Regions from separate parts of the Homo sapiens genome. Here region 1 is linked to region 2. Evidence: promoter capture Hi-C in human tissues and cell types (Jung and others, 2019). All regions are on one chromosome and are shown on one strand. The core of a region is centred on a gene start or on the middle of the fragment in contact, and the rest is flanking DNA. Distances in the headings are between cores, read along the strand shown.

Evidence for each region. Contacts are between HindIII fragments. The study calls those that stand out against the background at their distance.
Region 1: a contact is called between a fragment that was not itself captured here and the fragment with the promoter of CPA3 in region 2, in 1 of the 25 tissues and cell types used here (mesendoderm cells).

Annotation. Positions count from the first base shown.
Region 1 is chr3:148,358,932-148,361,631 of GRCh38, forward strand. The region is part of intron 3 of LINC02046 (long intergenic non-protein coding RNA 2046); the gene reads left to right. Among named protein-coding and RNA genes, the nearest start is that of LINC02046, 79 kb to the left of the region's middle. The HindIII fragment of the contact is 6,456 bases long and covers 1-2,700 here.
Region 2 is chr3:148,863,857-148,866,556 of GRCh38, forward strand. CPA3 (carboxypeptidase A3) reads left to right here and starts at 1,440. Exons shown (of 11, transcript NM_001870.4): 1 at 1,440-1,519; 2 at 1,617-1,692. The coding sequence starts at 1,452. The HindIII fragment of the contact is 8,383 bases long and covers 1-2,700 here.

The DNA of each region.
Region 1 (2,700 bases), core at 94-2,593, 510 kb before region 2:
TGATTTATCACCCAGAATATTTTTAAACAGGTGCTCTCTCTTCATTGTAATAGACTGGAGTTTTTCAGAAGTGACAACACAGGCTTGTTTTATTTATTTGTTTTGTGAAATTCAATGAGAATGCATTACAAGCAAAAATACCCAGTCATTTTGTAGAGACCTGAGGTTAGTGTAGTTAGTTTTGTAGAGGCCTGGGGTTAGAGGGTTAGTTGATGTCAGCCTGTCATGATTTCTACCTGACTTTCTTGACCCTTTAAAAAGAAATTGCTGCTTTTTAAAATGTTACTCCCTACCTCCGGACACCTAACACACAGTATACTGTCTTGGATCCCAAATCTTCCTATCCTTGGAGAATCTCGAAACTAGCTGCCTAGTATATAAGAATCAAATATAGCATACCAAAAAGCCTTGACAGAAAAATCACACACACACACACACACACACACACACACACACGCATGCAACATTGGCCATACTTGATGAGAACTTTTAAACTATGGCAAAATATGTTAGAAATCTAAAGTTAACTGTTCTGCAAGTGGTATACAGCCATGCACACCAATTTTACAATTTTAGCATTTAGAGTAGTCTGGACCCAGCTGGAGTAACAAATTCTTTTCACTACTTTATAGTTGTGCCAAACATATTTCTATAGGGCAGCAGTACATCACAGTGGATCAGAAAGTAGTCCCTGAGTGTCAACATCCTGGAATGTAAACCTGGCCTCACCATTTATTAGCTGTATGATCTTGGAAAAATTAATTAACCTCTCTGTGCCCAAATCGTCTCATTTGTGAAGTGGAGTTGATAACTACCTACTTCACAGGACTATTCTGAGGATTAAATCAAATAAAATATGTGGAAAGCTTTGCTATTTTAATTTAAAAAAAAAACACTATTTAACCTATCAAGGGACTACAGATTGTCTTAAGAGCACCTTCTATTTTCCTAAAATCAATTAAAGATCAGCTTACTTTGGTTCTTATCTATTTATTAAAACACATGAGATGGACAATACTTACCAGTACTTTGATGAACCCACAAACTGGGAGTAAATAAAATTTTTATTTTCAAACATCTGGTCTGTTTAACCCAGGCTGCTGTCTCATTAGGTTTCTCACTATGAAAGAGTAAGTTTAGAATGGGCTGGAAATTCACTATTTGAAAAATCTATATACCTCAACTTATGTTTCCTTCCAGGAAACAGAAAAAAAAAAGAGAGAGAGACAGAGAGTAAAGATAATGGGTGAGTAACACATGAAGCAAAATCTAAGACTTTCAGAAAGCCCTGTGAGCTAAGCAAAGATGAAATTATTTTCTGGTTGTGAGGAAAGAATGTGAGTGCTTAAAGGCTCAAGTTGCCCACAAATTCCTGGGATAGTGTGCAATCTACTTTGCTTAATTCTGTAGAACTGTTATTCCCAAACCCAGCAGCATGTCAGAATCTTTCTGAAGAGGGTCTTTAAAAAGTACAGCTTCTTGAACTCTGTCCAGGCCAACAGAATCAGTATCTCCAAGGATATAGCCCTGAAATACATGTTTTTAAAAAGTTTTTATAGTAGTTCTTATACACAACTATATTTGATAATCAAGAACCAGAGATTTTTTTTATTATACTTTAAGTTCTAGGGTACATGTGCATAACGTGCAGGTTTGTTACATATGTATACATGTGCCATGTTGGTGTGCTGCACCCATTAACTCGTCATTTGCATTAGGTATATCTCCTAATGCTATCCCTCCCCATTCCCCCCACCCCATGACAGGCCTCAGTGTGTGATGTTCCCCATCCTATGTCCAAGTGTTCTCATTGTTCAATTCTCACCTATGAGTGAGAACATGCGGTGTTTGGTTTTCTGTCCTTGCGATAGTTTGCTCAGAATGATGTTTCCAGCTTCATCCATGTCCCTACAAAGGACATGAACTCATCCTTTTTTATGGATGCATAGTATTCCATGGTGTATATATGCCACATTTTCTTAATCCAGTCTATCATTGATGGACATTTGGGTTGGTTCCAAGCCTTTGCTATTGTGAATAGCAAATAAACATATGTGTGCATGTGTCTTTATAGCAGCATGATTTATAATCCTTTGGGTATATACCCAGTAATGGGATGACTGGGCCAAATGGTATTTCTATTTCTAGATCCTTGAGGAATCACCACACTGTCTTCCACAATGGTTGAACTAGTTTACAGTCCCACCAACAGTGTAAAAGTAAGAACCAGAGATTTTTTAAATAAACTTTTGTTTTTACATTGGAATAAGTTTGGATGACACTACCGAGTTCTCGTATACCTTGACTCATTTGCCCCTAATGTTAATATTTCATATAATAATCATGGCACATATGTCAAAACCAGAAAATTAACACTGGCAAATTACTAATGTCTTTTTCATATTCCTGAATCCAATACAGGATGCTGTAACAACACTTTTAATCATCATGCCTCCTTAGTCTCCTCTGACCTGTGGCAGTTTCTCAGGTTTTCAAAACTTTGAGAACTTTGAAGCATGTCTTCAATGTAGAATTTCCTCTTTTTCAGACTGAGGTTGTGGGTTTTGGAAGTGAGTACCATAGAGGCAAAGTGCCCTTCTCTTGCATACTATTAGAGAGTACATGATACCAACATAACATCACTGGTGGTATTAGCCTCCATCATTTGATTAAGGCAGTATCTACCAGATCACTCCACTG
Region 2 (2,700 bases), core at 190-2,689:
CAAGAACATGAAGGCATTTGTAAAACCCTCCTCTTCCTTACCTGCAAGGCTGGAGCCGGAAAATCCATTTGGGGAAATAAAAAAAAGTCCCGAGTTCTACCACACACCCATCAGATAGAGAAGAATGGAATTACTGCTGCTGTATATATAACAGGGGCGTGTCTCCAACCACACTATTTTGATAGTACATAAGCGTGACTCTGAGAAGTTTTATCTACAGTCAGCTATACGTTTGTCAATGTGAAGAGGTGGTTTTCAAAAAGGAAATTCTAATAAGTTAACTGATTAGATAAATTCACTTACTCTTTTAGGTTACCTATGATTCTAGGTAAAGGTGTTATTCTCCCATAATTAACCAAGTTGTGTTCAAGACTAAACATCCCTCCAGAGATGGTTGTGAATGGTCTATAGGTGGCTTTCATTAATTCAACTCTCAAAAGGCATTATTTGGCAATTACAGCATCCAGGCTCTGAAGACAGTGTCCAATTAATAAACATTACAGCATTGATATTTTCTTGCTGTCAGGTAGTTCTCAAGTTGCCTTAGAAATAGGGGTCACCTCTGAGGACAGAGAGAAGAGAAGGGCAAAGAGTTAGGGCAGTGCTTTAGGTCTTTAGTGTTTATTTCTTTACCCAGAGAAGTACAGGAAAAATATAACAAAAATGTTATCATTGTAAAATCTAAATGGTGAACATTTCAATGTTCGCCATAGTACTTACAGCATTTTTAGTACATTTATATTTTGTAATTTAAATTTTTGGGGTTTTTTTTGCCTCCCAAGTAGCTGGGATTAAGGCACCTGCCGCCACGCCCGGCTAATTTTTGTATTTTTTAGTAGAGACAGGGTTTCACCACGTTGGCCAGGCTGGTCTTGAACTCCTGACCTCAGATGATCCACCCGCCGCGGCCTCCCAAACTGCTGGGATTACAGGCGTGAGCCACCGTGCCCAGTCAATTTAAATGTTTTTAATTTCACAACTTACATTCTAGCTTCAAAAATATATTTTACATTATTACGAACCACTCACCAAGATTTTATGGCCAGATACCCAAATTCATCTCAGTCTCCAAGTGCAAATTTTAAAACTAATTTCTTCCATCATTCAATTCAAGCAGAATGGTAGAGTAGTATTTTAGAACAGATAGAACTAGTAAATCCCAGCTCTGTGAACATACTTTCTCTGTTACCTTGGCCAAGTTATTTGCTAAAGGCATTTGCTTCCCATCCTGTATCTGTAAAATGGGTATTTCCTATTGCAAAAGGTAGATAAGTAGCATGTGCTTGGTGGGTTAGTGTTTTTCCCTCTCCAGCTGGAAAAAAAAAACCTGGTGTGGGGGAAGAAGGGGAACAGTTTGTGCAACAGAACCCTAAGAGGAAATCAGCTGCTCATCAAGATAAGGGCTGAGGCATAAAACTGCCAGAGGGTCTCAAGGCAGGCAAAGAAGAACCATGAGGCTCATCCTGCCTGTGGGTTTGATTGCTACCACTCTTGCAATTGCTCCTGTCCGCTTTGACAGGTAAATCTTACTTCCTGTGTTCCAGTCTCTGTGTAGAAGAGAATTAAAGGTTGTTTCCTTACAGTTCACTTTTTTTTTTTCATTTGCCTCCACAAAGGGAGAAGGTGTTCCGCGTGAAGCCCCAGGATGAAAAACAAGCAGACATCATAAAGGACTTGGCCAAAACCAATGAGGTAAGCATTTAGAGGGATATTTTATCTTTTCTTACTGTTCTCTAAAAGATGCTTCTTCTTATTTTACTGTCAATGCCCATGGGACTACAAAAGACTATTGAACATAAGGGGAAAGCAGGAGCTATCTGGATAATTCAGCCAATGGCCAATACTTCACCTGTTCTGGTTTTGGTCTTGGTTTCCAAGACTACCACTTCTGTTTTTCCTCCCAAAAGCTTTTCAAACACCAGCTTTTTCAAGGTAAAACTATGAAATCAGGAGCTGTTCTTGGCCTCCTTATCAGGGCATCTTTCTCTTGCCTACGGGTGCCATTCCCTCTCCATTCTCCCCACTCCGACCCTCATCTCCTCTGGTGCCATAATTTCTCTTGAGTACTAACTGAAAACGTTGAGGCACTGGCTAATATCAAGATGTGACCCTTTCCAAGAGCAGGTACATTTTCAAATAAGACTTTTAAAGTTAGATCAATCCTTTAAAATCCAACAGCCTAATATAATTTTATCATGTATTCAGCTGCTCCTATTTATGTTGCACCAGCCACCTTATATATGCCATTTCAAATTCTCCAGCAGATTCTCAATGTCAGGGTTATAATGTAACTCATTTGAAACAGAAGAGCTAAAGTGCAAAGACAATAAATTAAATGACCAAGATTACACATCAAATTTAAACCCAGAACTGGGTCTGGGATTTATTCCAGTCAAACATACAGTTACCTCTACATCAAATCAATCAAAGGCCCTGCCTATTCTAACTCCCAAATGTTTCTCAAATCCACACATTGCCCTCCATTCCACTGCCACTGCCAAGTTCATGTTCACTCTACCTCTTGCAAGGAGAATTTCCATAGTCCCTTAACTAGCAATCAGGGCTCTAGTCTTGACTCCCACAAAGCCAACTCTGCATTGCAACCTGATTGCTCACTCTAAAACTTGACAATTGCATTCCTCCGTTTGAGGGTCATTACTAAGAAGCAGCCTAGTACGGAAAAAGCATTTTCTTCAAAGT